Regions from separate parts of the Homo sapiens genome. Here regions 1, 3, 4, 5, 6 and 7 are each linked to region 2. The links are contacts of gene promoters, found by promoter capture Hi-C in blood cells and fetal thymus (Javierre and others, 2016). All regions are on one chromosome and are shown on one strand. Each heading gives the region's core, a stretch centred on a gene start or on the middle of the fragment in contact. The rest is flanking DNA. Distances are from core to core; before and after follow the strand shown. Region 1 overlaps NDUFAF2 (NADH:ubiquinone oxidoreductase complex assembly factor 2). Region 2 holds the start of LINC03122 (long intergenic non-protein coding RNA 3122). Region 3 overlaps NDUFAF2 (NADH:ubiquinone oxidoreductase complex assembly factor 2). Region 4 overlaps NDUFAF2 (NADH:ubiquinone oxidoreductase complex assembly factor 2). Region 5 overlaps NDUFAF2 (NADH:ubiquinone oxidoreductase complex assembly factor 2). Region 6 overlaps NDUFAF2 (NADH:ubiquinone oxidoreductase complex assembly factor 2). Region 7 overlaps NDUFAF2 (NADH:ubiquinone oxidoreductase complex assembly factor 2).

The links. The method cuts DNA at HindIII sites, captures the fragments that hold promoters and counts their contacts. A CHiCAGO score of 5 or more calls a contact.
Region 1: a contact is called between a fragment that was not itself captured here and the fragment with the promoter of LINC03122 in region 2, in 6 of 17 cell types (neutrophils, fetal thymus, monocytes and 3 more). The highest score is 6.1, in neutrophils.
Region 3: a contact is called between a fragment that was not itself captured here and the fragment with the promoter of LINC03122 in region 2, in 16 of 17 cell types (neutrophils, total B cells, fetal thymus and 13 more). The highest score is 14.3, in neutrophils.
Region 4: a fragment that was not itself captured here is called in contact with the fragment with the promoter of LINC03122 in region 2 in 17 of 17 cell types (total B cells, naive CD4 T cells, non-activated CD4 T cells and 14 more); the score reaches 16.2 in total B cells.
Region 5: a contact is called between a fragment that was not itself captured here and the fragment with the promoter of LINC03122 in region 2, in 10 of 17 cell types (total B cells, naive B cells, non-activated CD4 T cells and 7 more). The highest score is 7.6, in total B cells.
Region 6: a contact is called between a fragment that was not itself captured here and the fragment with the promoter of LINC03122 in region 2, in 9 of 17 cell types (neutrophils, naive CD4 T cells, naive B cells and 6 more). The highest score is 9.1, in neutrophils.
Region 7: a fragment that was not itself captured here is called in contact with the fragment with the promoter of LINC03122 in region 2 in 4 of 17 cell types (monocytes, naive CD4 T cells, naive B cells and 1 more); the score reaches 8.0 in monocytes.

The regions. Positions count from the first base shown.
Region 1 is chr5:61,116,055-61,120,028 of GRCh38, reverse strand. The region is part of intron 3 of NDUFAF2 (NADH:ubiquinone oxidoreductase complex assembly factor 2); the gene reads right to left. Among named protein-coding and RNA genes, the nearest start is that of SMIM15-AS1, 44 kb to the left of the region's middle. The HindIII fragment of the contact is 1,506 bases long and covers 1,874-3,379 here.
Region 2 is chr5:61,636,461-61,640,521 of GRCh38, reverse strand. It overlaps LINC03122 (long intergenic non-protein coding RNA 3122), which reads right to left and starts at 2,741. Exons shown (of 2, transcript NR_126525.1): 1 at 2,676-2,741. The HindIII fragment of the contact is 4,932 bases long and covers 527-4,061 here.
Region 3 is chr5:61,072,307-61,076,399 of GRCh38, reverse strand. It overlaps NDUFAF2 (NADH:ubiquinone oxidoreductase complex assembly factor 2), which reads right to left. Exons shown (of 4, transcript NM_174889.5): 2 at 3,186-3,275. Among named protein-coding and RNA genes, the nearest start is that of SMIM15-AS1, 88 kb to the left of the region's middle. The HindIII fragment of the contact is 6,746 bases long and covers 1-4,093 here.
Region 4 is chr5:61,055,134-61,059,206 of GRCh38, reverse strand. The region is part of intron 1 of NDUFAF2 (NADH:ubiquinone oxidoreductase complex assembly factor 2); the gene reads right to left. Among named protein-coding and RNA genes, the nearest start is that of SMIM15-AS1, 110 kb to the left of the region's middle. The HindIII fragment of the contact is 2,126 bases long and covers 1,003-3,128 here.
Region 5 is chr5:61,095,775-61,099,627 of GRCh38, reverse strand. NDUFAF2 (NADH:ubiquinone oxidoreductase complex assembly factor 2) reads right to left here. Exons shown (of 4, transcript NM_174889.5): 3 at 596-636. Among named protein-coding and RNA genes, the nearest start is that of SMIM15-AS1, 65 kb to the left of the region's middle. The HindIII fragment of the contact is 1,702 bases long and covers 540-2,241 here.
Region 6 is chr5:61,020,914-61,024,888 of GRCh38, reverse strand. The region is part of intron 1 of NDUFAF2 (NADH:ubiquinone oxidoreductase complex assembly factor 2); the gene reads right to left. Among named protein-coding and RNA genes, the nearest start is that of NDUFAF2, 78 kb to the right of the region's middle. The HindIII fragment of the contact is 1,547 bases long and covers 1,456-3,002 here.
Region 7 is chr5:61,038,211-61,042,132 of GRCh38, reverse strand. The region is part of intron 1 of NDUFAF2 (NADH:ubiquinone oxidoreductase complex assembly factor 2); the gene reads right to left. Among named protein-coding and RNA genes, the nearest start is that of NDUFAF2, 95 kb to the right of the region's middle. The HindIII fragment of the contact is 8,800 bases long and covers 1-3,922 here.

The DNA.
Region 1 (3,974 bases), core at 1,377-3,876, 520 kb after region 2:
ATGTATGCATAGGCAAATTAACTTGCTAAAATTAAGAGTTGTGCAGCCAGACATAGGATTTCAGGTAGCAGCCAGACATAGGATTTCAGGTAATCTATTACTTCTATTTAAAAAAATTTTTAAATGTACTGTTATATTAAATTTTTAATAAAATAAAGGAAAATAAATCAAGTAAGATCATAGTATTGGCTAAGCCAGAGAGTCCCAAAAGTGCTCAACAGTTACACTTGCAGATGTGCATTGCAGAGCCTCAGGCACCTCTGAGTGCAGACAACCCTACCTCTTTGCCTGATCAAAGGCAGGAACAAATGGTTAGGCCTGAGGTAGGTCAAATGACTGGCATAAAACTGCCCAACAGGGACCTTCCATTGTGGATGGTGGTTAACCCATTCAACCACATCTTTTCCTTTGGGGAGGTAGAAATGCTAGTAGGTAAATAAAAAAATGGGATGTTGACCAAGCTCAGGATATATCCTTTCCAGCTTTGGAAGCCAGAAATCCCAGAATAACTTTATTGTTGAAAACATGCTTCTGTGTAAATTTGCAATAAGATCAAATTTCTGAAAACAATATATGAATGTATTTTCCCTGAAAATGTAAAGTATCAGAGCAATTTTCATATAGAAAAAAAATACTAAAAACAGAATCTAAATTATAGACATATATTAACTGTTATGTCTAGTGTAGTGTCCAGGGCAGGTTGGTATGTACAAAAGAAGTCTACATGCAAAGAAATTGTTAGCTCTTGAGCATATACCAGATGCCTGATGATAAGTATTTGAATTAGTAATGCAAATATATAAGCCTTAAGGCTTTTAAAAGGACTTTCAAGAACTAAACTATACTGATTCGTTCTGTATGCACATTACTGTGACAATTCCTCAAGTGCTTTTGGTATTTTCAAATTTCAAGTATCCCATTTTTCAGTTTATCCTGAGTAACTTGTTTTTCTATCAGGGACCCAATATGTTCTTTTAAAATATGTAATTATAAGGTTTCGGTATATTCTTTTAAAATAAAGTATTTCATGTGTTAAAAATAAACATAACTAATAACATACACCTATAACCCACCATCCAACTTAAGAAATAAAACACTACAGACATGACCAAAGCTCTCCATGACTGTGAACCCTAACATTTTCCTTCCCCAGAGATAATAACTACCCGGTTTCTCATCTATCATTTTCATGAATGTTTTCATACTTTTACAATATCTCTATATATCCATAAATAATAGTAGCAGTGTTTTTTCTTCGTTTTTTGCACATTTTATCTTCAAAGACTTTTGAAAAACTATGCACCATCTTGCACATTTCAGTTGACACTTAAGTAATGACAAAGGATGCATTTTCTAGCTTATTGTATACTGAATGCATGCTTTAAGTATATCTTTGTCAAAGCCTTGGAGCTGCAGTTCAGCTTATTCAATACACAGAGAATATAACAATATAACTTAATTGGCAAGGCTAGTCCTCATTGTCAAACTCAACCAGCCAAATCTGACTTACTATCTGTCAGAAAAAGTCTGACTTAATTTTAAAATTCAAATAAACGTGTTATTATTCATCCCCATGACAACTTTCTCACTTGTGAATTTTAATTTTAAGATAGATAAATGGACAGCTAGCTAGCTAGGTAGACAGAGAAACTATAATATAAGGCACGGAGCCTGGCCATGAGTTTGTTGCCTGCATGAAATAATGTATTACCCCTTCACTAATTTTTATTGATGCTTTCTTTGCTTTGCTCTCAAAGGACTATCCCTCAAGAGAGATTCACTCTCCAATTGTCTCCTTGTGTGGTGCCCGGGAGATTTTTAAACTGCAAGGCAAGACACCATAGTAAGATTTAGTACGGAAAAGGGGTAAGCTTTTCTTCTGAAAAGTGGGAGACAGATGATTTTGAAAGAAGTGAGAAAGGAGAACTGGCAGACCAGAAAGAGTTCTCAGGTAGATAGTTTTTAGGAAGGACTCCATATAGAAAGAGAGAATGAGGAAATTAATTTTTTAAAGCTATTCATAATGGTATATCCCATAGGAAGTCTTTGTGTATCCAGTGGTATAGGCATCCCAATTTGAAAACCATTGATCATTACCAGGATTGACAAACTAGGATCCACCTGCCAACTGTTTCTGTAAATAACGTTTTATTGGATATAGCCACACTTACTTATTTACATACCATCTATAACTGCTTTCATACTACAATGGCAGAGCTTAGTAGTTTCAACAGAGACCATTTGGGTCACAAACCCTAAAATATTTGCTATCTGATACCCTGCCGAAAAAAATTGCCACTGCTCATCCATATCATTGTATATGTGCTTTTTAACATTCTTTTTTTTTTAAAAAAAAGTCAATCATATGCATTGGGCTGGGCACAGTGGCTCACGCCTATAATCCCAGCACTATGGGAGGCTGAGGTGGGAAGATCGCTTGAGTCTAACAGTTGCAGATAAACCTAGGCAACATAGTGAAACCCCATCTCTACAAAATCAAAAAAAGTTAGCCAGGCATGGTAGTGTGCACTTGCAGCCCCAGCTACTTGGGAGGCTGAAGTGGGAGGAACTCTTGAGCCCAGGAGTTCAAGACTGCAGTAAGCTATGACAGTGCCACTGCACTCCAGCTTGGGCAACAGAGCAAGACCCTGTCTCTTAAAAAAATTATACATCTTTTTATTGTAGGGCCATTTCATTCTAAAAGGCTTGTTATGACAAATAATAGTTGCCTCTTCTCAAAAGCAATACTTTATATTCTTTAAGCTGATGTTTATGGTCATAGTATAGGCCAAACCAAGGAGCCTTAAAAGTGTCTGACAGTTACAAAGCAGGCTCTGCACTTAAACACTCCATAATAGCTAACTAATATTTTAAAACTGTTAGTTATTTTTTCAGTTTTAGGCACTATATATTAACTTCTCATTTTTGAAAATGAGGGTTTGCCTTATTCTTTGTGTTCCCTAATACCCTAGTATAGTTGTGGATTCACATATTATGAGTAAACACTGTCAACAAGTGAGTTATGTAGTAGAAAATGATTATTTTTCCTTTTCCTTCCCAAGTTTTTTCCGCAAATAAATGAATTTTGTTTATTTCTCATGTACTTATCGATAATTCAGCCCCACTTGGTATGTTCAGATGTATCAGGTACTCTATGTATTTCATGTTTTTGGGGAAAAAAATCTCTCCATTCACTCTGCCTGGACTGGTTGCCTTTCATACTCTAGTACCCTTTGCCAATGCTGCAGTTTTATTTCTTGGATCTCACCCCTCCCTTTTTCTTTGTTTACTCCTTTAGTCACTTTGTGAGAAAGGGTTTGTAGGAGATAATTCTATGAGACTTTGCATGTCTAAAATGTGTTTAGCCTACATTCAAGCTTAAATCATAAAACTAGGTATAGAATTCTAGACTAGAACTGTCAGAATGTTGAAAGCACCGTTACTTCTCTGTCTTCTAGCTTCTAGTATTACTAGTCCTCTAATTTTTCTTTTCTATTTTCTGTTTCTTTCTGCCCTATGTTACAGGAAATTGAATAGAAGGTTCTAACCCTTCAGTTAAACATTTCATTTCTATTATATTTTTATTTTTCCAAGTACTCCTTTTTGTTAAATATTCCTTTTATTTTGGAACATTAAGTTCTCATTTCATGACTGTAGTAACTTCTTGAATCGCTGAGGATAGCAGTTATTTTAAGTTTTTAAGTAGTCTGTTTTATCCAAGTGTTTTACCCTATTTATTTGTATGGGTCTCTGTTTTTCATTTCTCAGATGTCTAGTGTTCCTAGGTAAATCTAGCTGGAAACTTTGATGCCACAGGTGAAGCTTGTTGCAAGCTCAGTTTCACTATAACCTAATAAGGGTTTCAGGTCCTTTTTCTTGGTTGGTAAGAGTCCGCAAAGACGAATCTTCTAATACTCTGCCTGGAGCATAAAGGCCTGTTTGTCTTCATTTGAAAACCCAGTAGGGAAAAAGAT
Region 2 (4,061 bases), core at 1,492-3,991:
CCAGACTGAAGGCTGACTTAACGGTTTCCCCATGACCAAGTGGACAGGGTGGCACACCCAATTCCCTGGACACATGCCAGAAACTGGGCTTAACCTGCATCATGAGCAAATAAAGTTTCATTTAAAGAAAAGAGTTTCTGCAATTTAGCAAAAATGAGTGACTGACGAGTAACACTATCCAGAAACTGACAGATTGTCAAACCCGCCTGCTACCCCTGGGTCATTTCAGCCATGGAATTTCTGGCCCAGTGAGAGCAAAGTCATTGCTTTCTCCCTTGACAGATTTCTCTGTGGAGAGTTCAGAACAGAAGAGAGAAATATCTGCAAGCTTTCTGAAAGCCATGGGGAAGCTGTGGGATGTTGTGTCCGGTGCCTGCGTCGGGCTCCATCTCTCTCCACAGCAGCTCTCATATGTATTTATGAAACCGTATGAGGCTCCCTGGTGGGTGGCACTTTATGGGTGAATTACTAGCTAAAATTCAAAGGGGTTTTGATGGCAAATAGTATTTTATTCAATTCATAAGCTTCTTCTCCTAATTCAGCATCTAGCCTTAAAAATAGACCTTTAGCAGAGGTTGAGCAAACACCTGCCTGTTTTGCTTTGGCCCAGAACCTGGGCTTGTCTCAGACCAGCTGGTTCCATATGGGCCTCTGTAATACGGTGGCCTGCAAAATACAGGATTCCCAGTTAAACTTGAATTTCATTACAAAGAACAAATCATTTGCAATATAAGTATGTCCCTGCAGTGTTGGGGATAGACATGTACTAAAAAATTTACTCTTTGCTTTTTGGAAATTCAAATTTAACTGAGCATCTTGTGGTTTTATTTGCTAAATCAGGCAGGCCTACTCTGTCCCAGTGTATAAGCATCACACCGCCCTTGGTTCTTATCCAACATCCAGACCTATACTGGGGCTTCTCAGAATGGGATTCCCATGAATTTGGGATGCCCTGAGAGGTAGCGTTAGTAGTGAAAAAGGGGACCCTGCAAGGTGGAGGCCTCAAAGCCAGTTATTTCTGCTGCCGCCCTACCCAAGGAGAGTGTAGATGGAAGTAAATATCTAAATGCCCTCATTAGGGTGGGGCTGTTCCAACACAGGAATTACGACACACGGCCAGACTCAGAGGCTGCCCTCTGTTCTGTGGCAAAAGGGTCCCAAAGTACAGCCCACTGCTTAGCCTGACTGCCCTTCCTAAGTACTTCTTAAAGACTGCGTGTCCCAACCGGGCTCAAGCCTGTAATCCCAGCACTTTGGGAGGCCGAGGAGGGCTGATCTCGAGGTCAGGAGATCAAGACCATCCTGGCTAACATGGTGAAACCCTGTCTCTACTACAAATACAAAAAAATTAGCCGGGCATGGTGGCGGGCGCCTGTAGTCCCAGCTACTCGGGAGGCTGAGGCAGGAGAATAGCGTGAACCCGGGAGGCGGAGCTTGCAGTGAGCAGAGATCGCGCCACTGCACTCCAGGCTGGGCGACAGAGCGAGACTCCGTCTCAAAAAAAAAAAAAAAAAAAAAAAGACTGTGTGTCCCACTTTATCTGAGGGGCCAATCTGCTCAAGACATTTTTGAGCTGCCAGTCCCGAACTGCGTGCTTAAGCCCCAAGAGCTAGCAGGTATCCGCAGAGCCCCTGCACAGGGCTGCTGGGAGTTTCCATTGGCCACGCCTTCTGACCTCAGTTCTGCACTCCCATGCTCATTAGCTCCCTGCATTCTTGGATGCTCTTGAATATTCCCCTGCTCACCCTTCTTCTCTTGCCTGGTACAACCTTGGTAGCCTGACCCCAGAACTGGGCTGCTTGCCCTGGGCACCAGTTGGCTTTGTTCCCAGGCATTACTGCTGGGATTCGCTCTGGACTCTGAAATATGCCTCCTCAGCCAGCCCGACTGCCCAGATCCCACCAGCCTGCTCTGTCCAGAGAGATGAGACATTCGGACTATTCAGTGTCCGTTCATGCCATCTGCTGGGATCATGATTTCTATACTCTGGTCACACATTACATGAATAATACTTCCCCCATTTCCTCAAAAAGATCCTCAGACAAGCTCAACCCCCATGTGCTAGTAGTTCAGGATTCTATGACCATCCTAAGTTTACACAACCACTTGGCCTTGGCTGGCCAAGACATGATGGTGTGGGAGCCTAGGAAGACCCTTCAGAGACGGCAGCAACCAGACTCCTCTTCTCACAGTCCCCCTCCAGCTCTGGTCTGTCCTCCTCACACAACCTCCCCCTCACAGTTTTGGGGTCTCATCTTTGGACCCTCTCTTGCCCCATTTTCCAAACACATCATCCCTGGCTGTATTAGGGGTCTCTGGGGCAGCCGCACTATGCTTTGATAGAGGGATGAGGTAAAGTTATTTTCCACTTTATTAACCTGAAAAAGCATAAACCGACCAAGTTTAGGGGCCTGAAGCATATTCTAAACAGACAGTGTCTCCTCCCTGACCCAGTTCTCTTACGGAATCATGGGAACCCATCTCCTCGACTTAGCAGCGGCAGACAGGCTGGTGTTTCTTGGCATTGTTTTCTAGGGCTGAAGCTGCAGTTTTCCTGATTTGGCCCTTGCATATTATTTAATTGTTTATCTTGACATACAGGTTTATCCCAGAAGGGGATGTTTAAAAAGTGGCATGGAGACCCTGGCTATAGACAGAAATGCAGCTTAACTTACCTTGGCTTCCTTCCTGCCAGACTCCTCCCAATTATTCTGCAGGCTTCTTTGCCCTGAGGGCAGTTTGCAGCTCCAGGGACTGGAATTGGCTTAAAAAAAAAATTCCTTCCTCTCTGTGCCCCATGTGAGGGAGCATTGTGTTCTCTCTAAATAATCAGCCTGGCTTTGTGTGACCTAACTGGACAGGGCCCTTTGAGAGATTTTTCAGTTGCAGAAAGAGCAGTCAGTGGCATCCTACAAAATCAGAAAGTTTTCAGACCAAGGAGAGAAGTCAGTGACAGCAAGATATTTTTTTCTTTAAGTTGTATTGTGACTAATTCCTCTCTCCCACTGGTGTTTAGAGTAATTAGGTAAAAGTGCAACAGAAGAATCCAAATTTATATTTTAGATCTAATAAATAATAACATTTAATCAGATGATCCCCATCCATTAACACCAAAATAACAAACAATTCAATGAATTATTTTAGGGTACTTACTATGTGCAAGGCATTGTCAAGGTAATTATTTCTTGCATTTACTGATTTCCTCCTGGGGACGCAGCACTAGCAAGAAGCTAATGGATTAGAAAGAAGTAGAAGGCCTCCAGCTGACAACCCACTCAGAAGAGAACATGGATCAGAATTGCCTGCCTCCATGGCAGGCACAGAGCTGGGAATTCATAAGCAGAAATTACTTCATTCAATCATCTCAATAGCCCTGTGGGGAAGACAGTAGTTCTCCATTTTACAGATGTGGAAACTGAGATCCAAAGACTATGTATATAGCAGGCAGAATGATGCCTCCCCTCCTTCAAAAATTCTGAAGGCTGTGAATAGGTTACCTCAAATGGCAAAAGGGGCTTTGAAGAGGTGATGAAAGGTTTTGCAGTGGGGATGTTACTATCGACTTTCTGAGTGGGCCCAGTGTAATTGCCATGGTCTTTAATAAGGGGGTAGATAGGAAGATAAGAGTGAGAATGACAGGGATGTGACAATGGAAACAGAAATTGGAGTGATGTCGGGTCATGAGTCAAGGAATGCATGCACCCTCTAGAAGCTGGAAAAGGCAAGAAAACAGATTCCTCCCCCTCCACCCCAAGCCTCCTGAAGACGCCCTGCCCTGATAACCCACTGTGAACTTCTGGCCTCCAAAACTGTAAGATATCTTGGTCCATTTTCTGCTGCTGTAACAGAATACCACAGGCTAGGTAACTTATAAATAACAGAAGTTTATTTGTCTTATGGATCTGGAGGCTGGGAAGTGCAAGATCAAGGGGCTGCATCTGGTGAGGGCCTTCTTGCTGTGTCATAACATGCAGAAGGCATTACCTGACAAGAGAGCATGCGAGAGAGAGAGAGGAAGGGAACCAGAACTTCATTCTTCTATGTGGAGCCCACTCCTTTGA
Region 3 (4,093 bases), core at 761-3,260, 560 kb after region 2:
CTGAACACTATTTAAAACTGCAAAACGGCCGGGCGCGGTGGCTCACGCCTGTAATCCCAGCACTTTGGGAGGCAGAGGCGGGCAGATCACGAGGTCAGGAGATGGCGACCATCCTAGCTAACATGGTGAAACCCTCTCTCTACTAAAAATACAAAAACAAAATTAGCCGGGCGTGGTGGCGGGCACCTGTAGTCCCAGCTACTCAGGAGGCTGAGGCGGGAGAATGGCGTGAACTTGGGAGGTGGAGCCTGCAGTGAGCCAAGATCGCGCCACTGCACTCCAGCCTGGGCAAAGAGCGAGACTCCATCTTAAAAAACAAACAAAAAAACTGCAAAACCTTCCCCAACACTCCCTATGCCCTTTCCCTGCTTTATTTTCTGTGGCCATTAACATACAATATAGTCTAGTTATTTATCTGGTGTATTGTCTTTCTCCCACCCTAGAAAATAAGCTCTATGAATGTAGAGGTCCTTAATAGATACCTACTAAATAAACGAAGAAAAAGGGCACATTGTTTAATCTACATTGTGGGAGAATATGCAACTTGCAGGTCCCAGTAAAATTGACAAATACAATATTCATCTGAACCTGAAAATACTTAATTTACTTTTTCATGGTGCTGAGTTATTTTTCACATTTAATTGATGTGTACCACCATAAAAATAATTTTTGTTTAGTGTTTGATTGATACATTTGTTTTAAACATATGTCCCATGGGAGAGTTATGCCAAATTACTAGATCAGGACAGCCATAAAAAGATTAGAACTTCATTCAAACTCTCTGAAAGTCTCAAAGGCTGAAAAATGAGTCATTACGTACTCATTTATTTATAACATTTCTATAAACATCTTAATTCTATACTATTATTGGAAAAAATGATAAAAACAAACTCATTCTAAGAAGGTGCACGCATTATCCAAGAATTGTAAATGTAGTTTATAACACTGGAGAGTCTGCTAAAATAAGAAAGCTCAATTACCCCTCCTAGAAGTTGCCAATTTATATTCTGTATTTCTTCAAAAAACCTTTGGTATCTACTTATTTTTATGGTTTTTTTTTTCCTCATAGTTCTAGTAGTAAGCAGAAATGGAAAAATATTTTTACTGAAATGATGTTTACATTCACATGCTGGCATAAAAGTAACATAATGCCTATAGCTACCACATGTAAGGTATCATGCTATGCCAACCAAGAAGCAATGAGTCTACTGTTTACCCACGTATGAAGCTATATAACCCAGGTAAATTAACTAACCTTTTTAGGCCTTAGGTGCTCCATCTATTAAATGGGTGATATGGTTTGGTTCTGTGTCCCTACTCAAATCTCATTTCTAATTGTAATCCCCTTGTGTCGAAGGAGGGAGGTGACTAGATCATGGGGGCGGTTTCCCCATGCTGTTCTTGTGAAGTGAGTGAGTTCTCATGAGATCTGATGGCTTTATAAGTATTTGGAAGTTCCTCCTTCATTATTCTCTCTCCCGCTGCCACGCAAAGAAGGTGCTTGCCTCCCCTTCGCCTTCTGCCATGATTGTAAATTTCCTGAGGCCTCCCCAGCTATGCGGAGCTGTGAGTCAATTAAACCTTTTTCCTTTATAAATTACCCAGTTTCAGGTATTTCTTTTCTTTTCTTTTCTTTTTTGAGACGGAGTTTCGCTCTTGTTGCCCAAGCCAGAGTGCAATGGCGCAATCTCAGCTCACTGCAACCTCTGCCTCCCGGGTTCAAGCGATTCTCCTGCCTCAGCCTCCCGAGTAGCTGGGATTACAGGCCTGTGCCACCACGACTGGCTAATTTTTTGAATTTTTTGTTATTTTCTGAGATGGAGTCTCACTCTGTCACCAGGCTGGAGTGCAGTGGCGTGATCTTGGCTCACTGCAACCTCTGCCCCCCGGGTTCAAGTGATTCTCCTGCCTCAGCCTCCCGAGTAGCTGGGACTACAGGCACGTGCCACCATGCCCAGCTAATTTTTGTATTTTTAGTAGAGACGGGGTTTCACCATGTTGGCCAGGATGATCTTAATCTCTTGACCTCATGATCCACCCGCCTTGGCCTCCCAAAGTGCTGGGATTACAGGCATGAGCCACCACACCTGGCCTAATTTTTTATATTTTCAGTAGAAACGGGGTTTCACCATGTTAGCCAGGCTGGTCTTGAACTCCTGGCCTCAGATGATCCGCCCACTTCGACCTCCCGAAGTGCTGGGATTACAGGCGTGAGTCACCACTCCCGGCCTCAGGTATTCAATACATATTGATTAACTACCTACTAGGTGCCTTACAATGTGCCAGGCACTATGCTAGGAACTGGTAAGCAAAAAACAGAAATACATAACATGGTTATGAGGTGCCATTTTGAACTCAGTCTTGCAGATGAACTTCATTCAGAGAGAAACTGAACTGGGAACCAGAAAGCTGTTGGAAAACTAGGAAATATTCTCTCTATGTACTTCTCATTGTGAACTAGTTTCCGTTTTCTTCTCAGTAAATCAGCTTTTTCTGCAATATTAGCTTTTCTAAAATCAATTAGCTTTTTATGCAATAAAACTTTGATGGTAGACTGAAGGTGACCACTTACAAGCTACTAAGTTCATATGTTACTGTTAGAGCCACACTGAGAGACCAACTGCTGCTGTTTGTCTCCCTTTGATCTTTTATTTTAACTTCAAAGTCTTAGGAAAGGGATCGAGCATCCATCCTTGTCTTAACAGGCAGTCAGTTATCATAGAGTTATTGTGAGTTGAAAAAATACTCCAAATGGTATCTACAGCAAGTATTATGCATAATTTATAAAAGAAAAAACTAAAAGTTTAAGTTACTTTGCAAGTTCATGTGTGTAATGAGTGCCAGAAACAGGATTCAAATCCTAGGATTGTGCAAGTGCTGGGTCACTACATGAAAGTGAGTGCCTGCTTAAATTTTGCATCTTAGGATTTTGGCTTGCCTCACCTTAGTCTCAGCTCTGATAATGCTTAATAGTTCTTTTTGCTATACATGCATCTGCTTACTAAAATTCAGCACCTTCACAACTTTCAAAGAAATGCAATGTTAAAAAAACAAAGTTTCAAACATTCAGACACTAAAACTTTTTTGCAAAGAGAAACAGTATATAACTATATATGCTCTTATTGAATTTGTATACTGTTATATAACTTACCTCCCATGAGATTCTACTAAAAGCAGAAACTTACCTTCCCATTCTGTTGGAATATCCCCTGCTTCATAGTCTACTTCTTTTTTATTTGCTGCTTCTACAATTCTTTTCTCTCGAATAGTTTGTCCTATAAGACAAAAGTCATTAATACATTTTTAAATGAACCTATGATACAGTAGTTCTACAATTAATCTTTGAATATTGCATAACCCCTTATATAGTAAAAGAATTAAATTAACAGGAAAACGAGAATAGATTTCCATTTTGAATTAGGTATATTACAAAAGGCAAATTCTAAACTACTGTAAAAATTTATAATTATTTACCACAGCCTACAAAAATTAAAGGTAGGCCAGCCGCAGTGGCTCACGCCTGTAATCCCAGCACTTTGGGAGGCCGAGGTGGGTGGATCGCCTGAGCTCAGGAGTTCAAGATCAACCTGGGCAACATGGTGAAACCCCATCTCTACTAAAATACAAAAAATTAGCCAGGCATGGTGGCACACACCTGTAGTCCCAGCTACTCTACTCAGGAGGCTAAAGCACGAGAATCACTTGAGCCCGGGAGGCAGAGGCTGCAGTGAACCGAGATCGAGCCACTGCACTCCAGCTTGGGCTACAGAGTGAGACTCCATCTCAAAAAATAAATAAATAAATAGATAAATAAATAAATCTAGATTTAATGTACAGAAAAAGAGCAACCAATTAATCCTATAGAGCACTAATGGCCAATAAAAAATATTTTAATAATCAACAGCAAGTTCAACTTCTTCTGACTTACATGTATATATCTTAGAGGAAGCAATGGCTGCTGCAATCACCCAAGAAAATCGATATTCATTGCTGTTACTAAGTATGTAATGGACCACAAGACCCTGCAGCCACCCTCTCCCTAATACACTGGCAAACCCAAGGGAGCCAAGCCATGGGTTGAATTCTGTGGCCC
Region 4 (4,073 bases), core at 816-3,315, 580 kb after region 2:
GTCTATTGCATTAATCTAAGAAGATTTATAATTAAAAGTTAAGCAGGTCTTCTGATTATATTCCCAAATCAAACATGTAAGTCTTAGAAATGCCTTTACTTCATTTACTTCCCTTCCATTACTGTGGAAATCACACATCAAAAACTGTTTTTAAAAAACAAAGAAATAACACTTGAATATTATGTTGAAAAACCATTTATTTTCCAAACTGAAAGGAATTTTTGATCTGCTGAAAAAGCAGTTACAATTACACCTGATCTACTCTCCAAAAGAAGGTAACCATTCAAACAAAAAATATAAATGATGAATGCATGACTATTTAGTCCATGTAATAATGTGTTCACTATGAAGAGCTGAAAGAAGTAGTCATTTCAGGTTTTGATTGATGTGTAGAAATCAACTTTTGAAAGTACTTCACTCACTTAATACATTCTATACTTTTTTGTAAAGCTAAATTGTCTACAATGTATGAAGTATATTCATAATTGAAAATGTGAACATTTAACAAAATGTCAGAAAAATGAATATTAGGTGATTCTGCTATGAATATATCTAAATTATAACATGAGTTAAGATGTCTTAAACACACACAAAAAGGAAGGAAAAAAGGCGGGGATGAAAATTTTTTTAGCTAAATTAAATAGGCTTTAAGACATTATACAAGAATTTCAAGTTTTAACAAAACTATTTTACAATAAGAGGACATTTATGAATGTGATTGGAAATCTTATTTTATAGTGACTCAAGCAAACAAATTCCAATCTGGTACACCCTTGATATAAAAATATATATAAAAAGAGTATTTTCTTTCAAAATTAGTAAATATTCATAGTGTGGTATAAAATAATATAATCAAGTATTTAATTTTCACTTTGAAAATCTAATTTGAACACTAGGGCTTTCAATATATAGGTAAAAAGAGAGATGGAAGGAAATAATTAAAAATGATGGCAAATATTACTAGAATTTAGAGAATTATAAAATTATAGTATGTGAAAAGCTTGGGCCAAGCCCAAACTTATTTTCAGATTCGAAATGTAGCAGATACAGCTGATTATGTGATTGACTTCTAGACCCAAATGGTTTCATAGAAATCAAATACTTGGTCATTAATCACAGACCATAAAAGAGTCAAAGACCGTACTGTTATCTACTGTTACTAATTCACAGAATATGTGGCAGTTTTAAATATGAATAATTTAATAAAAATAAACAGATTGCATTTTGTGGTACATTAGTTCTCAATTTTAAAAAATTATATTTATTAATCCATGAAATTACTAATACCCTTCATTAATCTATTTAATTTAGCCACCAGGCACCACTGATCACTAATAAATAGAAACATTCTGATATAGAAGGAGATCACATAATCATCTAATGAAATGTGATAGTTATCAAGTTAACAGGAACTACACTAGTATTTGTGAACCAGATTCCCAAGCTCAAAAATTGGGTTTAGTTGGTAAAAGTCTCGGATGCCAATAATTTTCAAACTATTGTCTTTAAAAATATCCTCTTTAGAGGTTCAATTTACAAAACTATTCAAGCAGAGCCTCTCTGGTTAAGGGAGGGGTTCAGAGTACCACCCACCTTTTCTCCCCTCCCCTTACATGTAGTTACCTCCTCACACTCCTAGGATTCTAAAGAGTCCTGTGAAAATCATTGATTCAGACCAAGTACTGTACTTCTGAGATTCCCCAGTCCATCTGTGAATACATATATTCATTTACTAAACAAAATCAAGATCTTGCCAATGGGCAGAAAGACCACCATACATTTACTTCTTTCCCTATACTATTCTTCATTTAGTTAGTCAAGCAATCTTTCACAAACTACTGAGTAACTGGTTGTAAGACAATGTAGCATTTTCCCTACAATCCTGTTTTCCAAGAACATGTAAAGCCTACTTCAGCTGTGAATCTATGATTTAAAGCTAGAACTTGATTTAAGGCTTGCTTCCAGTGTTCAGAAAGGATGAGTTCAGTGAGAAGTCATTTTCTCATGTTGGAATAAGAAGTGCTTAGGAAAAGACAAAGAAGTCTGAACAACAAGAGGGAAAAACAACTCTCCAATTCACTTGTCATCAAGCAAGCAGGCCTTCACTGGAGAGGCATTTTTAATACTTTGACTCCCCAGAACTGCAGGCTGCTGTGAAGGGAAAGATTTAGGTAGTCTGAGGCCAATTACCAGCAGTAAAAGGAAAGACAGGATAGAAAATTCCATCAAAAGTTTTTATATAGCACCATATAAATATATATATATATATATATATATATATATATATTTTTTTTTTTTTTTTTTTTTTTTTTTTTTTGGAGACAGAGTGTCGTTCTGTTGCCCAGGCTGGAGTGCAATGGCGTGATCTCAGCTCACCGCAACCTCGGCCTCCTTGGTTCAAGCGATTCTCATGCCTCAGCCTCCTGAGTAGCTGGGGATTACAGGCACGCGCCACCATGCCCAGCTAATGTTTGTATTTTTAGTAGAGACGGGGTTTCACCATGTTGGCCAGGCTGGTTTTGAACTGCCAACCTCAGGTGATCCTCTTGCTTTGGCATCCCAAAGTGCTGGGATTACAGGTGTGGGCCACCGTGCCCAGCCATAGCATCATATGATTTTAGTCATTCGTTTAAACTCTTCCTATGACAAACTTTACCCTGGCTAATAACTAACAAAATTGGATGACATGAATTTTATCTTTGTTCTCTATTTTAGTTCGCTGTTAGAAAGATATGCTAATAAGCTGTGATTGCACCAAAAGGCAGGCTGTAGGAGCATGAAAAAGAAAAGTTGATTCCATTTTGCTTGTGAAGGCTGCAAAAAGACCATTAATCTTGCAATTTTTACCTACTTATTCATTATTTCTCAATGATGCTCAAAAAGATAAACACTACAGTCACTAATAGTAAGATATGCCACATGGTATTACTTTAAGATGGGGGTCTCCAAAAACAGAGTGCATATAAAAATGGAGCCTGCCTCTCTACTCAAGGATGTACTGATAGCCCATGCCTGGATATTTACCTACAAAAGAATAAAATAATTGGAGTTGAACAATTCTTTATTCTTAGTAGCAAATGACAAAGCTCAACATTTTTTCCCTATTTCTTGCTACTTTCTTATAAGCTTCCAGGTTCTGAAGATCATGTAATTTAGGCTAATTTAGCAACGTGTCAATAATATTATGTTAATTTGGCTTATTAATGTTATCTGACTCATTTAGATGAGCAGAATTATATTTATTGAGCATTATGTATATGATATTAATAGACACTTTATTTTTATTTTCTTAATTCTCACAACAATCTTCACTTTTATAATTGAGGAAACTAAAGCTCAAAGAAAATTGAATGGATAAGGAAAGGTGTGTCTTGAATTATGTTTAATTTTTACATGGAAATTTAAGAAAATGTACTAGCATAATCACCTCCTATACTACAAAAACAGTGTCCACATATAGTCAGGTTCATGCTGCCTCCCTTTTTTATTTCTGCCTCCTTTTCACAACCCATTTTACAACCACTTGGCATATACTTTCCACATCTTCCCCCTTTGCTTTGTGCTGCAGAACAACCTAACTATTCTGTGACAATAGCACCACTTATTGGCTGGCAAAGGTATTGGAAAAATCTGAAATCAGTATCTGCTTTCTTACCTTTAGAAAGATAATGCATAATTTGGGCTTTTTATTCTGCCTTTTTTATTTCAGCTCACTCACACCCACCTGAAAAAGTGTTTTTCTCATATACACATACAACTCCTTTTTTATCTTTCATATCTCCTTTCAAAAACCTGTAGAGTTACTTTACCACTTGATTTCACTGCTAATCAATGTTTGCTAATATGAAGCAATGAAGATGAATTGTGAATTAAAAGCAATTTGTGAATTATTCTGGAAACAGAACTACAATTTACAACACAATTTCTATTTTAAAATGTGTTGAATTTCAACAAGCTACATACATGGAATTTTTAGGATTCAACTGATTTGTAAGTTGGGAAACTTGCCATATTATTAAAACATATAAAAGTATAAAGTCTTCTGTAGTGGCATACATGGTAAATAAAGGAAT
Region 5 (3,853 bases), core at 141-2,640, 540 kb after region 2:
TATATTGTAAAACATATATACCATAGCATTTCTATGTTTTTTTATTGTTTATCACTGACTACAAATTTTTTAGTTTTAAATAAAAAGTCAACTAATAATTACTGTTATAAAATAATTGCTAATTCTGTATTTTAAAGTTTCTTTGGATACTTGATGGATTTAAATACATAATATTAAGGGAAACATAAGAGCATGATTTGGACAAGACAAAGAGATTCAGTGTTTCTCAAACTTTTCCACAAAAGCTTGAGTATTGGCACAGAGAACCCCCAGGGCCCAGGGGAAATAACCTGGTGCAAACTGCTCCAAGTTCAGACTTTCTACAGAGTGTTTTAATTTTGTTTTAAATTTTTATTATTTCACTTTAAAATTTATACAAATTTTGTTATATTCCATAATATGAGCATTTATTTTATCATATATTATTTTATTAATAATATAGGTTTATATATTAATTTATTATAAAATGTTTTAAGTTATTTTCTGTGATGGAATAAAATCAACACTTTGAGAAAATACATCATAGTTTTTCTGAAGCTTCGTATATCCTTGGGAATATATACTCCTAAATGATATCCTCCTTGTGTAGTCTTACCTCCATAGTAGGTGGAGTCTTTCTTGTTCTTCTAATCCAAGCTAGAAAGAAAAATAATATTTAAATGTCAGTTTCCCATAATTTACACAAACATTTTTATCCATAAAACAAATTTTTTTGAGTACCTACTCCATATTATTTTAGGTACTGGAGATACAGCAGGGAATAAAACAGATTAAGTCCCTTCTCTACTGTAGCACATGTACTACTGAAGGGGTTGCAGAAAATAAACACACAAACATATGGTTGGTGGTGATATGTGTCATGAAGAGAATATAATAGTGTAGAGAAGATAAAGAGGGGACAGTTTCATATGTTTAAAATCATACCTCCTAATCATCTAAATTCGACTGGGTATATTTATGGCATACAAGCCAAACCAAAATACAGCAAACTTCAAGACAATATCAAAATTATATTATTCTGGAAATTTGAATTAGTTACTGTTCAATTTATAAAGGAAGGGACTTAGAAAAGTTTTTCATTTACAGAGGTTTCTTTTCTGATTTGCTCCAGCAAGCAAAAATATCATCAGGCCTTAGCTCTAACACTTGGCAGATGGGCTGCAGAGATAGAGCCCACATTTGTTAAGTGGCTGCTGGGGCCTGGGTACTGTGCTGGATGCTTTGCAGCAATGGGAAGGGAGTGGGGCAGCTGCCTTTAGGGAAGTTATCAGAATCACATGGAAGACAGTATAGTATAGTGCTTATGAGATTCTAAAGTCAGATTTTCTGGGTTCAAATCCCAGCTTCATCACTTACTGTCTGTGTCACCTGGAGCAAGTTATTTAATTTTCTAAGCATCAGGCTTCCCATCTATAAAATGGAAATTATAAAAGTATCTACACTTCAGGGTTGTTGTGAAAATTATATAAGATAATATACATAAATGTTTACTTTGAAGCCTGGCACATAAGTCTAAGTTATTAGTATAATTATTACTATTATTCAATAAATCTCTTAAAAATAAGACTCAAAAAACAAAAGATCAATAATATCTGCTTAGCCTGCAATGTTGTATAGGAGACTGTGAGAAAATATATTGTAGGGAATATGATCTTGAAGGCCACTGTTTTATCATTTCAGTTGATTCACTCTTCACTACAAAATTGAAGAAATAGAAATAAAATGAATTCCTCAAATTTATACATTAAGTAGTAATGGTTGTATTTGAATTCAGATCTGACCCTGTCTCTGGCTCTAAAAACCATCCACGCTCAACTAAGCAGTCTTTCAAAGTTTATGAACAACATGCAAAGAATATTAAACCAGAAAGAGAAAGCCAGGCTAGGTGTGACCCTAACTACATGTTAGAAAAATAAGAATTATTGATCCCATTTTAGAGATTTGGAAACTGAGGCCCAGAGAGATTAAGAAACTTTCCTAATGCCATATAATTAGCGACTGGGAATTAAACCCTGGTTGAACTGGCTCTAAAGTCTTAGCTTTATCCATTCACCAGCCACTATCTCTTGTGACCAGCTCTAACAGCCAGCCTTATTCATTTAGGCACAGACTGTCACTGACTTACAGTAGTTTGACTTAGGATTTTTGACTTTACCATGGTATGAAACCATTCTGTTTTTCATTTCAGTACTTATTCAATGAATTACATAAGTTATTCAAAACTTTATTATAAAGTAAGCTTTGTGTTAGATGATTTTGCCCAACTGTAGGTTAATGTAAGTGTTCTGAACACATTTAAAGTAGGCTAGGCTAAGCTATGATGTTTAGTAGTCTAGGTGTATTAAATGCATTTTCTACATGATGATATTTTCAACATATGATAGGCTTATTGGGACATAACCTCACTGCAAACCAAGGATCATCTGTAATAGCACCAGGACTTGTCTTCATAAAAAGCCCAGCACTGAATGGTTTGTGGGGGTGGAAACAGCAACATTCAACTGCGGGCTTGGGATCAGTCATTTCCCCCTGCTCTATTCTCTCTTGCACTTATCCCTTACATGTATCTCCAATACAGTTCCAGTGTTCTCCATTCTCTACTACTGTTTCTAAATTTCTACCCTTGTTATTCTTTCTGCATTCTGTTTCCTTCTTTCTTTTTTTTTGAGACAGTCTCGCTCTGTTACCCAGGCTGTAGTGCAATGGTGTGATCTCAGGTCACTGCAACTTCTGTCTCCCGGATTCAAGTGATTCTCTGGCATCAGCCTCCCAAGTAGCTGAGATTACAAGTGCTCGCTACCATGCCCAGCTAATTTTTGTATTTTTTGTAGAGATGGGGTTTCACCATGTTGGCCACGCTGGTCTTGAACTCCTGACCTTCAGTGATCTTCCCACCTTGGCCTCCCAAAGTGCTGGAATTATAGGCGTGAGCCACTGCACCCAGCCTGTATTCTGTTTCTATTAGCTTTTACTCCTATTTGGCCAATTTCTAGCCAAAACTTGTACAGATTTTTTTTTTTTTTTTTTTTTGCAATGGTGTCTCACTCTGTTGCCAGGCTGGAGTGCAGTGACGCAATCTTGGCTCACTGCAACCTCCGACTCCCTGGTTCAAGCAATTCTCCTGTCTCAGCCCCCCGAGTAGCTGGGACTACAGGCACTCGCCACCACGCCCAGCTAATTTTTGTATTTTTAGTAGAGACGGGGTTTCACCGTGTTGGCCAGAATGGTCTCGATCTCTTGACCTCGTGATCTGCTCGCCTCAGCCTCCCAAAGTCCTGGGATTACAGGCGTGAGCCACCACACCTGGCCAACTTGCAAAGGTTTTAATCTCCCTTGTGAGTCTGTAAGGTTGTCAAAGGCAGGAGGTACCCATGGGAGATTTATTTTTCTGTCATTTTAAGTACCTACTCTTTTGGGGTATTTACTCTTTTAAATGCTATAAAAGAGGTGGTACTTTAAAAATTATTGAATGAATATTTTGAAAAATATTTGTTCTATCAGGATTTTGATCTTTATTAGAAAATCCAGCTTAGCAATACCACAATTCCTTTGTGTAGTCAAGGAAATAAGTGACTTTGGGAATTTTTCAATTGCCTCTTTATGGCCCAAATTAAAGTTACTTAGATTCAGGCCAAGATGGACGACTAGAAACAGCTAGGGTACGTGGCTCTCATGGAGAGCAACCAAAGGGGCGAGTAAATATAGCCCCTTCAACTGAAACATCCAGGTACTCGCATTGGTACTAATCAAGGAAACAACTCGACCCCTGGAGAATGAAGAAAAGCAAGACAGCACAACAGCCCACCCTGGAGCGACATGGAGCCAGGGGAACCTCCCCCACCTAGGGAAGTGG
Region 6 (3,975 bases), core at 980-3,479, 620 kb after region 2:
GCAATTGGAAACAGAGAACAAGGCTGATATGTAGTATGATAGAATAAGGTAGGCTAGAATATTAAATACTTATTTAAACATTTATTTTTTAAATAATAAAATGTTTATTTAAACATTATCCAGAAAGCAGTGGGAAAATATTTTAAGCAGAGGTATAATAATAATCAAGGATATCTCTCAACAGGATATAAAAGCTACAGTATAATGATTAAGAATACAAGCCTCTGGAGCCAGACTTACTTTAAATAGAGCTCTGCCATGTGCTAACTATGTGATTTGGGATAAGTTACTTTCTCTATTTCTCAATTATCTCAACAGTAAAACAGTGATAATAATACTACATATTGCAGGGTTAGAATGAAAATGACGTGTCTTATAATTATTTGAAGCTATTATTATTACTATTATTATTATCATTTTATAACTTGGTAGGGTCTATCAGTCTAACTTAACATATATGAGGCCTAAAACAAATAAACTTATTAAAATCACCTAGAACGTCCTTTGGCACAAACTAAACATTTGACTTATTTTCACTTAGAAAACATTTACTGAATATTTATTAGGTACCAGATACACACAAAACAAAAAATGTTTGAAAAACGCACTGGAGGGAAAAGAAAAGTTAAAACAATCCCAAAACAGAATTTTTAAAAAGCTATTAGAGAATCAACCAATATCCTTAAAATAGAAAGAAATTAAGAGTCAATCAAATTACATCAATGTTAAAAAAAACAGAAAATTCTTATAACATGGTATAGTCCAAGCCAATATGTAAGGGCTTCCTTCCTGCTCCAAACACAGAGAAATACTGGATAAAATACTTTCAAAATAATACTTTGCTAAAAATAAGAAACAAAAATTCCTCAAGTGCTGGAAACAAATAGAAGTCAAAGCCAGAGCCATAAGCTTAAACAGACACTGTAGCAATCCCCGGGGTTTCAAACTCAGCTCTAGGCTTTAAGGGCTAAGTGCTTGGACATACACCTTTAAATCACTTGCAGGAGTGAAAACATACCCATAGCTGATGTGAGGTGGGGGATCAAGAACTGAGCATCCACCTAAAGCTCACAGAATCAAAGAGGTGTGCTACTCAAGAAAAATTAACTAGAAAAACGTGGCCCATGAACTCTAAGAGGAAAGAAGCCAGTCATTAATTTGAAGCCTTCAATGAGAGAGGGAAAACAGTCACCACTAAAACATAAAAAACTCTACAAGAGTATCCTATATATGTGAGGGTTTTAAATTTACATAATTCCGTGGTGTAAAATTTAAAAGTAACATAAAATCTGACTGGACCCTTGAAATTTTTAAGGACCAAAAGATGTAGATGTAAATAGTCCCACAAAGATACTCACATACTATACTGGACTTCCATAGAATACATAGTCCCTAGTAAAGATGAGCTCATAATAAAAAATTATAAATTGAAGAAACCATCACGAGGAGAAAGCTTTAGCTGATGTAATAAATAGGCAAATTACCCTTCAAATACTACAAATAAAATAATCTAAAACTATAAATAGAATCTGAAAATGACTAAACCAGTAAAAATGTTTAGAATGATTTTTCAAAGACAGAAAAGCCACAATGACAACACTGGTTATGCAAAAAAAAGAACTAAAATATTTTTAAAAGAACCAAAGAGAAATTCAATAAAAAAAAATCACTTAAGAAAAAGAAAACCTCAAGGAATGACAGATTAGAATAGCTGATATGGAGGACAGAATACAATCTGTATCTTTACTAGGCATTCTAGAAGGAAATGACAGAAGAAGGGGGGAACACCTATTTGAAAAGACAGTGGCTGACATTTTCCAAAACTGATGAGCCACATGAATCCCTTCCCGGGTCTAGGAAAAACAAAAATCAGAATAAATAAATTAAAAGAAAAGAAACTCATACCTAAATAAAGTACAGTGAAAATGTAACACACTAAAGGCAGGCCGGGCATGGTGGTTCACGCCGGTAATCCTAGCACTTAGGGAAGCTGAGGCAGGCAGATCACCTGAGGTGAGGAGTTCAAGACCAGCCTGGCCAACATGGCAAAACTCCGTCTCTACTAAAAATACAAAAATTAGCTGGGTGTGGTGGCATGCGCCTGTAATCCCAGCTGCTTGGGAGGCTGAGGCAGGAGAATCGCTTGAACCTGGGAGGCAGAGGTTGCAGTGAGCTGAGATCACGCCACTACACTCCAGCCTGGGCCACAGAGCGAGACTCCGTCTCAAAACGAACAAACAAACAACATCACCACCACCAACAACAAAAACACTAATGGCAAAGAAAGGATCTTAAAAACAACCAGCAAAGGACAGGTCAGATTATCTACAAAGAAAAGATAATTAAAGGTAGATGTCTCATACGCAATAACAAATGCTAGGAAACAACAGAATAATATCCTCAAAGAGCTAAGGAAATATAAGTGTTATCCAAGAATTCTATACCCTATTAAACCATCATTCAGGTCTGTGAGGAAAACAGACATTCTCAGACAAATAAAAACTGAGAATTTATTTCTCCCAGTTTCTTGGGAAATATATGTGTAAAGAAGGAAAACTGAGCATAGAAAGGAGAATGGAATGCAAGAATATGTTACGAGAAAAGATATTGGTAAACACATTAGAAAGTTAAATAAGTACATAATATTGATAATAACAGTAACAGAAAAACTAAGTAACTTGGAAAGAGTAATAGTTAACATTTTTGTCAATTTGTTTGGGCCATGATACCCAGATTCCTGGACAAACGTTATTCAGATGTTTCTGTAAAGTTGTTTTCTAGATGAGGTTGACATTTTAATTAGTAGACTTTGAGTAAAGCAGATTAACCTCCATAATGTGAACAGGCTTCATCCAACCAATTGAAGGCCATAAGAGAACAAAGACAGGACAACCTCTCCTGAACAAGAAGGAATTTTGCCAACATAATATCTTTAGAACCACAATTTTTCCCTAGGTCTCTTGCCCACCAGCCTATCTTGCAGATTGTGGACTTACCAAGCTTCTACAATCACAATTCCTTACAATAAATCTCACTCTCACTTGTTGGTTCTGTTTCTCTAGAGAAGCCTGATTAATGCAGAAGGCATTTAGAAACAAAGGGAAACTAAAATGCTAAACAACACAAGCAAGGAAAGTACAAATGAGCATGGTATGCAAAGGTAAAAAGGCATAATATTAAATACTGTTAAACACATAAATAATATCAATACCAAGGAAAAGAAACAGAATGTATAACATCCAAAACAACAGAGTGGGAAAGGTGGGGGAAGGAAAATGATATAAATAATGTGAATAGACAGAATAAGGGCGTCCTAAAGATGTCTATGTACTAATTCCTGGAACCTGAGACTGTTACCTTACATGGCAAAAATGACTTTGTATATGTGACTAAATTAAGGGCCTTGAGATGAAGAAGTTATCCTGAATTACCTGGGTGGACTCAATGTAATCACAAGAATCCTTATAGAAGGAGATAGAAGGGTCAGAGTTACAGAAAATGTGAGGGAAGAGCAGAGGTCTGAGAGTCAGCGACAGATCTGTTTGAAGATGGACAAAGGGATCACAAGCCAAGGAATGCAGGTAGGCTCTAGAAGCTAGAACAGGGGAAAAAAACAGATTATCCTCTAGATCCTCAAGAAGAAACACAGCCCTGCCAACAACTTGATTTTATCCCAGAGAGACTAATTTTGGCTATCTGACCTCTAGAACTGTAAGATAATAAATCTGTGTTGTTTTAAGCCACTAAATTTGCAGTAATTTCTGACAGCAGCAATAGGAAACTAATACTATGCCACAAAGTTAGAAATGAGAAACGAGTAATAAAAGTAACACCAAATCAAGTTTCCTAATATATTTGGAAACTTCTTTAAATAGCAAAAAAAAAAAAAAAAAAAGGCTGGACGCAGTGGCTCATGCCTGTAATCCCAGCAGTCTGGGAGGCCGAGGCAGGCGGATCACGAGGTCAGGAGTTCGA
Region 7 (3,922 bases), core at 941-3,440, 600 kb after region 2:
CAAAGTTACTGTGCTAATTTAGGTATTTAAAATAATAGTTCTAAGTCCAAAAGTACAAATATAGTCTAAAAAAGACTCTAGCGTATTAGTGACAAATCTACGTGGTCATACCTGGATTTCAAATTGGAGTTTATTATGAAAAATGTTACCCATATGATTCACTCACATGATATGTCAGGAAAACTGTCAGACTTCAAGAAGCACATCTGGTTTGCCCATGACTGCAATGGGGATTTTTAGATTGATTCATGGCATGTGAAAGCATCGTTGGAAAGCGGAGAGAAAATAATTTTTAAGTAGCCCTTAAAATCTTCACTTTCCTCTAAGACACATGGTGAACAAATATCTGGGAAAAAATGTCACCTACCAACTAAGAACAATGACTCTTTTCTCCTTATTAGTAGAAGATAACTTGAATGTCTGCCCATGGACACATAAAGATTTAACCATTACAAGTGATGCTTATTCACCTGATTGGATAAACTAAACGTTGCTTATAATTCATAATTTATTACTTGCAGTAACTGAAAGAGTCACATAGTTAAGTCTACCAAGTTTTAAACTCGAAAGTATTGGTCTATTCTCAGTAATGAGTTAAAATATTAATTATATTTCTTACCTACAATCTCTCTAAGACTAAGTCTCTCTTAGCCTGTAAGAATTTAAAACCAACACTGGGAATCTTTGTGTATTAAAATTCATGAAAAAAACTGGTACGGGTGAAAAAACAACCTACAACCACCTCAAATAGTCATTAGTACCTCTATTGGTAGTATTTCAACTCTTCGATCAAAAATATTCAAATACTTATAAAACTACTTCTATTTAAAGAGAGATAAAAATTATACTAGTAAATGGAGAATATGTTTACATTGAGATAAGAATATTACTTGATGGTAATTTTTCATATCTCAGAAATGTAAGCTATAATCCAATCCTTTAAAGTTTAAAAAATTTAAATTTGTATATATCCTCTTAGATGTTACTTCTGAATATTAGCTCTTCATAAAATACCATGTTACTTTAAACACATTTGTAAGTCATTTTACTAAATGTTAATCTTTATAAATGATCTGTGCTTTGGATAGAATTTTGATAGTTAAGCAGTTATTTTCAGCTGTGCTCTATAATATTGGAGCAAAATTATGACAAACTGAATATTCTCTGGATAATTCAGGTTGACAGTCCCTTAGGGATTTCATTTACTTAAAACCCACTTTGGATTTTATTTTTCATATGAATGGGACATAAACATGATAACAACAGTTATCCTACTTTTGCTAACTATAGAAACCCAAACCTGGTAATTATCTACAATTATTTTTTCATACAAAATATCCTTACAGTTATTTATACTCCAGTCTCTCTCTAATATGCATACTTAATAAAAACTAACGTGTTCTCATGAAGAATATATTTGTGAATCTTAAAAAATAAGACTATCCCACAGTTATATGCTAATAAATACTTGTGGGGTTCTGAAATCAGGTATAGAATGAGTGTGACACAGTTCTCCTCTCAAGTACTTCATAGCTTAGTAAATGATAGAAATTTGTACAAAAAAAAAGGCAAAAAAATATATATTTATGGGAGAATGTTCAGGAATACTGACTATTTTGGTTTCCTAGGGCTGCCATAACAAAGAATCACAAATTGTGTGACTTAACAGAAATTCATTGTCTCTGTTCTGGAGGCTAAAGTCTGAAATGAAAGTATAGGGAGGGAGGGTCCTCTGAAGGCTCTAGGGAAGAATCTTTCTTTGCCTTTTCTAGTGGCTCCTGGCCTTCCTTGGCTTGTAGCTGCATTACTCCAATCTCTGCTTTCAACTTTCGCGCGCGCGCGCGCGTGTGTGTGTGTGTGTGTGTGTGTGTGTGTGTGTGTCCTTTCCTCTTCCTATAAAGATACCAGTCATTAGATTTAGAGTCGACCATAATCTGATCCCATCTTAACTTAACTGTATAGACAAACACCCTACTTCCAAATAAGATAACATTCTGAGGTTTCAAATGGATATACATTTTTTGGGGGGACACTATTCAACCCACTATATTGACCATGTATGAGGAAAAAGAACAAAAAAATACTTGCCAGGTTGTGTAAACTTCAAGTTCAAGTGTTCAACAGCTTAGCAACTTCTTAAGAAGGTTTTAAAGTCTTCATTTCAGTAATGGATCTGAGATGATTTAACAGAATATCTTCAAAGTTCTAAAGAGTTATAGTATCTTGATCTATAGTAATGGCTCCTCAAAATTTAGTTCATAAACTATTAAAAATAAAATAAAGTAGGGATGACTGTTCCACCCATTCCTGTTTGTCCAGCATACCTCATCAGAATTAAGGGCAATGTTTGTTTTCTTTGATGAGAAATCAATGAGATGCTATGGTTCTTACTAAGCATAATTATTCATCCTTGCCAGAAAGAGAAATACAGCCATAATCATTAAAACTAATGACTGGCTATCTCACCACCTGAGGGATTCTTAAGGACACCAGCCGTCCCCTAAATCACAGTTTGAGAATGATCTAAGTTAATTGGCAAAACAGAAGTTAAGTATACATTATATCATCACTTATACCATTTACTGAATAGCATTTCTGTGGTAGAAAATAGTACAACTATTGATTGAGATTCAGTTGGAAATTTGGGCTTAATTACTATTTTCTAGGAAGCAGAAATATTTCTTTAAATTTTGGGATTCTAAAAAAGATAGCATTCATGGTTTCCAGTTCTTTTGGAGAAGAACTATTATCTATTAGTTACATGTGCTTTATAAAACATCTGATAGATGTTCTATTCTTCAGAAACATGATTTTTTAGAAAATGAATTCTATAATATGCTTGTTACAAATATAGTCTCTTCCCATCTCTTTTTTTCAACAGTAACTTAAATAATGCGAGTACAAATGCCACTTCCTTAAATATCTGATGGGTCCTCAGCACTCTGGCATGTGGTAGCTTTGTCCCCAAGACTTTTTTTTTTTTTTTTTTGGCCTGTCAGCTGTGAGAAACAGTTTTCTACCAATTACTGTCACAATATGAATAAATTCAAAACTGAAAATATAAGCACTGAATATTTTCAGTAAATTTATCCCCAAAACTATATTAAAATAGGGACTTACCATTTAAACAAGGAATTTAGCAAGTAATAATGAAGAAGTATCACATTGTACTTTGTCTTCTATAAATAAAAACACATGTAACAAGATAAACAAAAAAGCATTCATGCAAAGAAGAGAAATGGGCAAATGACAGCAAGCATATAAAATGAAATGAAAAAAAAAAGTTATAGCTGCAAAGAGAGCATCAATTAAGAAACATGACCTCAAATGTTATGGAGTTATTGGTTTTTGTCACCCTTTTTGGATGATTAATAATAACTTAATAACAAATAATTTTGAAAAGATTTACTTAGCATTTACCTCTTTATCCAACACCAATCAGTTTCTTTTAGTATGTGGCTCAAATCAAACATTAAGCAAGCATTTGGTCCCTAACATGATTTTGGTTTAAAAGGTAAGAGAGAAAAATACTATAAAAATTAGCAATGCTTTTAGATTATCACTCCTAATAATACCTCAAATAAACAAGATAGAGTTGGCTCTTACTGTAAACTATGCCAAAATTCTTTTTCTGGGGGGTGGGGTTAATAAAAGTTCTACATTTACAGGTGTGACCAATGAGTACAGTTTGAGCTGGCTACAGTCCCAGTGGTCTGGTCCATAAACCTTGTTTGGTCAGAACACAGCTCTTCTAAGTCTCTGAATCACAATCAATTTTAATACCAGGGTAATAATGCACAATTATTTGCAGGATATATTCTTTTACACTCATTTGCAGAATAGGCATTATGTTGCCTTTTTTATACTTTCACTTAGTCTTCTCAAATGTCTTTTAGAGTATTTTATTTTTGATGATCTATGT